2 separate regions of the Homo sapiens genome follow, and region 2 is linked to region 1. Evidence: promoter capture Hi-C in 16 types of primary human blood cells and fetal thymus (Javierre and others, 2016). All regions are on one chromosome and are shown on one strand. The core of a region is centred on a gene start or on the middle of the fragment in contact, and the rest is flanking DNA. Distances in the headings are between cores, read along the strand shown. Region 1 has its middle 210 kb from the start of LINC02344. Region 2 holds the start of B3GLCT (beta 3-glucosyltransferase).

What was found. The method cuts DNA at HindIII sites, captures the fragments that hold promoters and counts their contacts. A CHiCAGO score of 5 or more calls a contact.
Region 2: the fragment with the promoter of B3GLCT here is called in contact with a fragment that was not itself captured in region 1 in 1 of 17 cell types (non-activated CD4 T cells); the score reaches 9.1 in non-activated CD4 T cells.

What each region holds. Positions count from the first base shown.
Region 1 is chr13:33,542,541-33,547,954 of GRCh38, forward strand. It overlaps a transcript of STARD13 not described here. Among named protein-coding and RNA genes, the nearest start is that of LINC02344, 210 kb to the left of the region's middle. RefSeq lists enhancers at 267-366, 467-576. The HindIII fragment of the contact is 1,343 bases long and covers 703-2,045 here.
Region 2 is chr13:31,198,163-31,203,321 of GRCh38, forward strand. B3GLCT (beta 3-glucosyltransferase) reads left to right here and starts at 1,813. Exons shown (of 15, transcript NM_194318.4): 1 at 1,813-1,992. The coding sequence starts at 1,923. RefSeq lists silencers at 1,454-1,513, 1,564-2,463, 2,524-2,773. The HindIII fragment of the contact is 2,637 bases long and covers 273-2,909 here.

The sequences.
Region 1 (5,414 bases), core at 124-2,623:
AGCGCACGGCGAGACCCCGCCCCTCGCCCTCCCACCAAGACGAGGCGCGCGCACCAGCAACCAGGGCCCGCTGGCGCCGCCCCGGGTTTCCGCTCCGGGGCTCGTCGGTCGCCGTTCGGTTCCGGTTCTGGCCCCGCCCTCACGCGGGAACCCTCCAGAAGTCTTAATATCCGGGACCAGAGGCTGGTTGCAGCGCACATTTCCGGCAACGAGCGCAAAGGAAGGGATCCGGTGACGCCTCTTCCCGTCTCCCCAGCGGCCCAGGCTCTGGCTCTCGGTGCGGCAGCGCCATCTGGTGCCGAGTCTCCCGCCACCCGCGGAGGTGGCACGCGCCCTTCTCTCGGAACCTTCCAGAGAAACCGTGGCCCCTGCTTTCCTTTCTCCCGCCCTGGACGGGGAGGGACCCGAGTCTCCGCCCCGCCGAGTTCCCGCGCGGGAGGGACTTTGTGGCGACTCTGAAGCGGAAGCTGCCTGTAGGAGGAGCTTTACAAACCCAAAATGGAGCGGAAACTGTTCTTTCTCTAGTTTTAAGTCCAGAAGAAACGGCGTCCTTTTATTTTTTGCTTCCTTATGCGTTGTTGCTGGGTCATTCTCAGTCTTCCCCGTATCAGTTCTTTAATCTTTGAGGACTGGGACCCTGTATTAATTGCCTGGTAGGAAGATGACACGAGCTTTGTGGCTTACATTGGCCTCTGCTGTAAAAGCTTTTGTTTCCTTTGGCCTATTAAAGCGCTGTTGTAAAAGCCTGCTGTGTATGTTAGGAACCCATCGAGAAGCAGAATGTAGTAATTTGCTTTAAAATAGGCCATGGAAGTTTCAGAAAGGTAGCCTCAGAAATGCTCAATGTAGATTCGTTTGCATGTCACGTTTCTTTTAGATAATCAGAGAAAGGAAAAGTAATTTCCCCAAAGTTAGTAAAATCAACACATTTTCCTTTAATAATGTTCTTTTTTTCCTGTAATCTTGGAGTACTAACAGAGTTGTTCTAAATGTTTTATTGGAATGGTGCTGTGGATATCAAAATATATAATGAAACAAATTTCCTTTAGAGTTTAGATAGCACATGTTAACTTGACTCTTTGATTGTATTTCTCCTATAGTAATGCTTCTCAAACTGGAGCATGCATCCAGATTCTCTAGAAGGCTTGTTAAAACAGATTGCTGGGCCTCAACACCAGAGGTTATAACTGGGAGGGAAGGTCTGAGGATACAGCTGGATTAGTGTAGCTCTAGTAAAATCTCAGGTGATTCTGATGCTGTTGGTACTAGGACCACACCTGGAATAATTTAGAGTTCAGGATTGCTTTGTCAATAATGCTTTTTGCTGTTGCAGGACAGACGGTACTAAAATATACTGGTGATACTAAGCCTGCACAAGTTAGTAGTCCTTTTGACTCCGTGGATGGGAAGTAGTAAACTAAACCCTAGAACCAGTAGAGAGCTACATAAATGTTCACAGATTAAAGCAACCAGTTCATAGAAATGTATTCTGTATATGATCATGTGATAGAGGGTGCTGTAATACCAAGTATACTAAATATTTCAGTTATTATACAGTAATTGTTCTTTAGCTGTTAAATTAGAAATGACTAAAATTAAGGACAAAATAGTTTAAACAATCATACTAATTTTACCCTTTGGAAGATGCCAGGTTTTTTTCAGTCTTTTGCATTTCCTCAAGTTCCCTTGTTTTACGGAATTCTCTACCCCCAGCCCACTCCCATCCCTACCGTGCCATTTATAAATGTACACAGTGCTTACATTATAAAAAATGATCATCTCAGAACTTGTCTCATCTTTTCAGCAGGACTTTTCTCAATTCTGTCAAATTCTGACTGTGCCACTGCCTTTATTGACACAGTAATTAAATCACGCAGTGATTAAAGTGTGCTGCACACTGTAACTTTTGTGCTTGCTACAAATAGAAATACAGATATTGTTAGATAAGTTTATGTTTATGATAATCAGTTCCTAAAATGTAGAAAGCAGTCGGTTTTCTGGTCTCAGTTTTATTTAAATCACTGCTATTTTGTTTACTGGATGTAAGCTTCCCCCTCTCTGCTCTAGCCTGAATGGGCCTTCGTGAAAAGAAGAAAAAAAAGATTGAGAACAACTGTCTTAAAACCATGGTATTTCCCTAATAGGCTAGTACCATGTATTTGGATAATTACTGATGAATCATTTAAATCAGGGAAAGGTGCATGGTTTTGTTTTTTTGTTGTTTTTTCTCTTTTTTTTTTTTTTTTTTTTTGAGATGGAGGCTTGCTCTGTCGCCCAGGCTGGAGTGCAGTGGCCAGATTTCAGCTCACTGCAATCTCTGCCTCCCGGGTTCAAGCGATTCTCCTGCCTCAACCTCCTGAGTAGCTGGGACTACAGGCGTGTGCCACCACACCTGGCTAATTTTTTTGTTTTATTTATTTATTTATTTATTTGAGACGGGGTTTTGCTCTTGTTGCCCAGGCTGGGGTGCAATGGTGCGATCTCAGCTCATCACAACCTCTGCTCCCAGGTTCAAGTGAGTCTTCTGCCTCAGCCTTCCTGAGTAGCTGGGATTACAGGCATGTGCCACCATGCCTGGCTAAAATTTTGTATTTTCCTTAGTAGAGATCAGTTTTCTCCATGTTGGTCAGGCTGGTCTCGAATTCCTGACCTCAGGTGATCCACCCGCCTTGGCCTCTCAAAGTGCTGGGATTACAGGTGTGAGCCACCGCGCCTGGCCTAATTTTTTGTATTTTTAGTAGAGACGGGGTTTCACCGTGTTAGCCAGGATGATCTCGATCTCCTGACCTCGTGATCCGCCTGCCTCGGCTTCCCAAAGTGCTGGGATTACAGGCGTGAGCCACTGTGCCTGGCCCGAAAGGTGAATGTTCTTTGCCTTATTTTAAACTTTATTGTAATAAATTCACTAATGAAGCAGGCAGAGAAGATGTAAAGGACACTTCATTAGTAATGCTATATTTCATATACCTGCTGTATTTTGGGAGCATTATTGCTATCATTTGGTTTGTTGGATCCCTCCAAATCTCACGTTGAAATTTGATCCCCAGTGTTGGAGGTGGGGCTTAATGGGAGATGTTTTCAGACATGGGGGTGGATCCCTGACACAGGGCTTGATGCCCTCCTAGTGATAATGAGTGAGTTTTCTATTAGTTGCTGTCAGAGCTGGTTGTTAAGAGCCTGGCACCTCCCTCCTATCGATTTTCTTGCTGCTTTGTCTTGCTTCCTCGCTTACCATGTGATCTCTGCACATGCTGGTTCTCCTTCACCTTCACCCACAAGTGGAAACAGCCTGAGGCCCTCACCAGAAATAGCTGCTGGTACCATGCTTCTTGTACAGCCTACAGAACTGTGAGCCAAGTAAACCTCTTTTCTTCATAAATTACCCAGCCTCAGGTATTCCTTTATAGAAAAATAAATGGACTAAGACAGTTGTTAAATAACCTTATTTTGTTGACTAAAAGTAATTAGTATTTTATGACATTTATTTATTATGGCTGTTAACATTACAATTTATCCTGGCTAATTTCATCAGTAAACACTCTTATGAAATGATACTGTAGTTTACTTTCAACCAAGAATTGGTTGACTTTGATACAGTAATTAGATTAGGATTCCCACGTCAGATTTTCTTTCAAAAATAATTCCTATTATTATGTGGAAGCCTCCTTTTCTGATTTTTTTCTCTTATTTTCTAAGAACATAATATGTAAATGGATGTATAATGAATATTTGTGGCAAAAAGCATTTGTCTAAGAAGAATTAAGTTGATTCAGCTGTTAAAGGGGTCTTAGTTGTTAGAGCTTTTTGGCGGTTTATTTGCTATAATCAATAGACTTATTAATACTTTTAATTTTAGCCTAATAGTACTAATAGTCACATTTTGACTAACTATTGGGCCAGTTTTTCTTTGTCATTCATTGGTAGTTGAGTCTCTGTAGCCTTTATACTGCCCTATTTTTGGTTTGCCACATTTTAAATCTCAAACTGCCTATAATTTATACTGTTAGTCTTTGGAAATAAGTTTGAATTGACTATTCTGCTAAACTCATTTTAATGACCATGCTCCCTTGTGATGAGCTAAATTTATTTATTATTGTGTTGTCGTATTAATTTTTTTTTTTTTGAGACAGTCTCACTCTGTCGCCCAGGCTGCAGTGCGGTGGCTCAGTCTCCACTTACTGCAACCTCCACCTCCCGGGCTCAAGTGATTCTCCTGCCTCAGCTTCCTGAGTAGCTGGGATTACAGGCAAGATTAATGTTTTTTATTTGTAATCAATTTAAGCCTAATACATGTTCTAATAATTTTTGTATTTCATATATGGATAAATTATAATAATTCTTTTAAAGTGAAAGTATTGATGAGAGATACTTTTTTTTGGAATAGCTCATTTTAAGCCCCTGATACTTGATATGGATAAAATATTTTCAGTGTTTAATAAAATGTTGAAATATATTTAACTTTACTAATTTGAGCCCTGCCAATTATAATACTTTAGAAAAAGTGAAAATATAATAGTACATTTATAAGGCTTTTAAGTATTCACAAAATAGTCATTTCCCAGTAGATGTTTTTCAGCTCTTATGATACAGTGTTTTCTTTTTCTTTTGGCCATGTATTGATCAGAATTAGTCATTAACTTTACTAACAACTGGATTTAGTTTGTCAGCCTTGATGGTTTGGTTACACAGATGTAGCTATTGTGTCAACCCCACTGTTTTAAATATGTTCCTATGCCAGGTGAAATTTGATCCCTTTAAGCAAATTTCTGTTAAACACTTTGTGTCAGTTTCAGTAACGTTTCCCCAATGAACATTCCTACTGTACAAAATTTTACATATGTGTATTTACATATTTATACTTTTTTCACAAATGTGGGAATTTAGGATACTATGTTTGTAAAAATTGGGCAATTTTTCTTGAAGATAATTTTTAAAATTACAGCAAAACATAGGGCCCTGAGAAGAAGAGGTAAAATATATGGAAGAGCAAGTATGTATAGATAATTTTGTAACGTAACCTTGAGAGAAATATAGAAAACTGAGACAACATAAGCCAAAGGAAAGGAATTGGGATGTAAAACCTTTAGGGTAGAGCAGTGCTCTGCTGTGGTCATTTATGCCTTGGCATTAAGTTCTTTTGAATATAAAACAATGCATTTAGAAGGATTTTAAGACTATATCACAGTGCACTGGCATTTTCTTCTTCAATTTTCCAGGGCTAAATAAGGTAATTGAATAATAAAACTTAAAAGCATTTTTCATTTCATGAAGATCCAAGAAAAAATATTTCATAACAATTTTTATTTACAAGAAGGAAAAACATATTCATAAGAATCTTAGATGATTAGTAGGTTAATGAAATAAAAAGTTTGTTAGGAAGAAGGAATACTAGTTATTGAACAATGCCAATTTTT
Region 2 (5,159 bases), core at 563-3,062, 2.3 Mb before region 1:
GTTCTCTGTTGTCCTTAGGGCTTAATTTTCCACACCTTGTTCTGGAACATAGTAATACTCTAACATGATGAATTTCCATGAAAACATTGATTAAGCACCAGGAGTTGCTTACCCACGTGGAGTAGGCATTTGACCCTGCTTATTAGTCTTCTGTGTCTAATTAAACAGTTTGGTTAAATGTTTACTACCCCACATATGCAAGGAATATTTTCTTGGAAAAAAGCGAAAACAGCTTTGGAAATTGGAAACAATCTAGAACTACTAGGCAGGTAAGCTTGAGAATTTCCCAAGGATAAAAGCAATGAATTCAGTCAACCATAGATTTGAAATGCTTCACTAAGAAATGAAATGGAAGGATCCCTACATTTCTTTTTCCTCCCATCAAAATGGTATTGACAAGAGACCATAAACCTTGGGCGAATGGAACAAAAGGGAACTATTTGCACTCACACTAAATGGATCACACGTGAAATATTTAGTTCCCAGTTTTAAGAAGTCAATATAAACCACACAGAGAGAAAATTCTTTGTCTCCAGGCCTCCTTTTCAAAACAATCCCAGCAGGTATTGCACAATTGCAGACAATACTGTCCTAATGCATTAGAGCCTAAGTCCCCTAAACGCATTCAAGTTAAGAGGGCTCAAGCCTACAAATGTTTATTCAGCACCTGCTTCTCTGTCTCCAGGACATCCTACTTGTATTCCCAGGGCCATCCTACTTGTACTCCCAGGGCCTCCTCCTCCTTAAATGTTTAGCAAGTAGGTGAATGTTGTATGTCCATGTGAAAGATACTGGCATTCCTAGGGTGCTTAGCAGAGTTGCAGTCACATAGTAGGTATCCAACAAATGAGTAAATATGAAGGAAAACATAGAAACTGCCTTCAAGAGGTCATGGGCTAAACTAGGGCTGGGAAAAGCACTTGGTCCTGTGCACTTCCTTGGAAACAGAAGTGAGCCAAGGCTTGAGGGAGGCACGAAGGAGTTCAGAACCACTGAAGGGAGCCTCTAGTTCTTACTTGTAATGCTTTCCCCTTCAGTGCACCACACAACACAACAGGACCAGTCCCCTATCAGGGCCACCACTCTACCGGGCTGGGGAGGAAAGCCCTTCGCAGTCCTGCGGGAACAGGAGGCACTCCCACATTGCTCCACTTCTCTGTATTCCAGTTTAATTAATTTTTATATTTTGAATAAAATTACACCCACTCTCTTCCATTATGGTGAACACTTAAAATTACATTTATAGAAAATTACATTTACACAAACTTGTTTAAAAGCCAAATCCCAGACCTAGGCTATTGGCCAAATTCCATTTAAAGGGGATATTAAGTAAATTAGTTGAGCTGATTAAAAACACCTTCATCAAAGTAGAGCATTGGTGCCAACAATATTAAGAGTTGAACTATTGATTACATTTTTTTTTCCACAGCAGATAATACATTAGCAGGGAGGAAAAGTGATTACTGCTCGCTTCCACTTCACAGGTAGAACTACTGATGGGGGTGACGCGGTAAGGTGGGAGGGCATGAAGGCAGGGGACGCGGCCTAGGTCAGGAGGGACGCAGAGGAGAAAGGAAGAGGAGGGGTGGAGGCTGGTGGCTGGAGGGGGCAGAGGTCAGACGCCTCGAAGGAGGGCGCCGTGAGGGCAGAGCCGCGGCCACCTCTACCGCAGCAGCCCGTCGGGCCGGACACCAGCCGCAGCCGCCAGCCCGGCAGACGCTGGAAGCGCGCACAGGGGTGCTCCCGCTCCCGGCCGCCAGAGGGCGCGGCCGGCGATGGCGCGGCGGAGACGGAGGGAGGAGGGGAGCCGGCAGAGAAGGGTCAGCCGCGGCGGCAGGGCGGCGGCGGCAGCGGCGCAGCTCCGCTCCCCGCGCGTCTCCCTTCCCCGCGCCCAGGTAGGGCGCTCAGCCTCCGCCGCCAGGATGCGGCCGCCCGCCTGCTGGTGGCTGCTCGCGCCGCCGGCGCTGCTCGCGCTCCTCACCTGCTCCCTGGGTAAGTAGCGGGCGGCCAGGCGCGCAAGGGCGAGGCGTGGGGTTCGCGGGCACAGTCGCCCGTGCCCCGGTCGGCGCGGGGAGGGAGGCGCAGGGCGGCCCAGCCCTGCCCCGCCGGCGCGCGCGTCCCGCCGTCCGGTCCCCGCCGCGCCGCGCCGTCAGCAGCGCCCTCTCGCGGCGCCCAGGTGGGACCCGGGCCCGGGACCCGAGGCGTGCCCGCTCGGCCCCTTTCGGTCTTGGGTCCCCGCTGCCGCCCCGGCCCCAGACTCGCGTCTCCCAGCCTCTGCCGCCCCGAACCGGCGGGCGACGGGGCGGCGAGGGCGCAGCAGCCGCCCCCACAGGAAGCGCGCAGGAACTGTGCCACCGAAGAAACTTTGCAACAGCGCGAGTGGCGGCGGCGGCGGTCCCGCCCCCCTGCCTTCCGCCCGCGCTCCGCCGTCCTGCGCGCCCCGCGCCGGGCGGGAGGCTGGACGGGAGCCGGCGAGGCGGCCCTCGAGGCCCCGCGGCTCCTGTTCGACCCCCGGGGGCGAGGACTGCGGTCCCGGTGTCCGCGCGCCCCTCCGCAGGGCCTTCGGGACGTGCCCTGGCCCCTGAGGATAAGCGGCCAGCTCGGCGCCAGCCCTTCCCGGATTCCGACCCGGAGGAGGACAGGGGCGCCCGCTGGGCCTCCGCGGGAGCTGGCGCGGCGGGGAGGCTTGCTCCTGTCTCGGGTCTCCGCTGGGGACATCAGGGGACACGTCTGCGAGCAGAGCAGTGCTTGCCCGGTCTCCTGCTGCTGTAATGCCCATTCTTTTTTATTTCTTTTCTCCTCGCAAGGGCATTTCCCCCCTTTATCTTAAAACGATGTGATAAAAGTTAAAAAAAAAAAAAAAGCAGCCTTGTAATTGACTTTCATGATCAGATTTGTTCAACTTTGAAAGCTTGAGCGAAAAATTATTTTTTTTTCAGACTGCTACAGAGTTTTTGTCCTCTAACCCAGACTTGCTGGTGTGAAAAGGCAATGATTTCAGATTTTTTAGTAATGGCAGAATGGTGCAGTTTAGGAAAAGACGTAGCGTTATTGCGCACTGCTCTTGTTAGCCCACCGGAACCTTGACAGCCTGTTTTTATTTGTATTTAAGCTCTCTGAATAAGGATTAATTTGCTGCATTTGTGTACTTCTGGCATTTCTATAGGCGCTCAGTAAGTGTGGGAAAAGAGCAAGATTAGTTGGTAATTGTTTACATGCATGATTAATTAGGCAGCAGTGTAATTAAAAATATTAGGGCACCTCCGGCAGAGAAGGCTGTAGTTGGTCTTGGGGAGCGACTGAATTTGGCTGGAATCGGCTTCAGTGGAAGAAGGGCATTGCTGGGTGGCAGCCCTGGGAGAAAGGGAGGTTGGAGGTTTGGGAAAGCGACTGGGTGACTCCTGGCTGCATCAGTTGGCTTGTTGCCTGGATGTTTTGCAACTAACCAAATGGGTGGGTGGTAGCTGAAATTGGTATTCTATTTATAGCACTGCACTTTATAATGCTGTACTGGGGGTATAATATTTGTATATAATATATACAACATATGGGCTGAAATGCACATTTGTATTGCTGTGTCTATTTTTTATTACCCCCAGGGGAATATTTGCACTGTCCAAATTTGATAATACACTGAAGGACATTCAGAATGCACTAAGATGTCAACACATTTTTAGAGATGTCTATTAGCCTTGTGAAGTTGTCAGATAAGCACAATAAATAAGACATAAAATGCATTAAAAGGTCCCTGTGAGACATTTGGCCTTTGGGAACTGGCTTTCATGGGTTGGCACAGACGGGAGGCTGTATTCTTCGAGGTCTGAAGTGAATCATGAATACCTTTTATGGAGCTCTGCTTCGATTTAGGGGAAGGGCACCGACACGTATAAAGATGTCCCCACTTACGATGTTCTTGGAATCTTGCTGAAACAGAATGTGACAGGCGTTCTGTCACATGTGAACAATCTTGATAGTTTATAAATACCTTAAATATTCCCATATAAGATTGGCCTGACTATATAGTTTAGTTTCCCCACAAACTAGAGCATATTTGTTTATATTTTTAGAGAAAAGTCAATATAGAAAATTTCTTTTAAACCCACATGCATATACAGACACGGTTCACTGCAACTTTGGTTCTAAAGTCTGGCACCAGTTTCAGAATGAGAAGATTGAGTCAGGCCTCCAGGTTACCATTTGTTAGCTGTGTGGCTTTTAGTGGCTTTGAGCTTCAGTTTTCTCATATGAACAGGGCGAATGGACTGGATAGAATACTAGCACTTTGCCACCTCTTACAGTTTTAACATACTGATCCCGTTGTAGCAGAGATTGACAGCCACCTGCGAAGTAACCCTTTAGCCCTTGTTTTCCTAACAAAACTAATATAATCTGGGTTGGGGGGAAGGATGGTGGGGTGGTGGTGGCAGCGGTGGCAGCAGCACTGTGAGACATTTCTCAGTGGCCTTTGCATATAGGGGCAGCTAGTGCTCTACAGAGATATCTTTAGAGATTGTTTGGTGGGGCTCCTGGTAAAGCTCATTCAAGGTGGCTGACTCAGCTGGGATGCAGGCCTTTTTGCTCTGTGTTATCCTCCTTCCCATTGCCTATTAAGTGGATCTGAGGGATGGAGCCATGGTGGCCATCTTGTGACCATGAGGTGACCTTGAAGATGGAAGCCAGTAGTAAGGATGGTAGAAGAGAAAGATAGAAGAAGCCTGGATGCCAGATGGATGTGGAGCATCATGTCAGCTCTGCATTTCCTGTTTGCAGACTTGTATTGCATGAGATTATATGCAGCCAAACCTAATCCTATTGCCAAACCTAATCCTAATTGATAGAAGAAGCTTATTCGAACCAATGATATTGATAAAATAATAGGTATTAGCTTTTATTTTTCACATGCCTGTCTGTCACTTCCCTGTGTGAGCCAACTTTGTATTTCTTAGCACCTGCCAAAATTGGGGATGGTTTTTCATTCTGAGCCAGGTCTTGCCCAGATTCCTTTCATTGCAATGAGTCAGAAATTTTAGGACACCAAGAGTCAGACCTAATTCCAGGTTGTTTTGTGTTTTTTGATTCTTAAAACCTTCTCTTTATTTCTTAAGCAGTATGCAGATATTACTGGCACAGATTTTAATCTTCTGGATGGATTCTTTGTC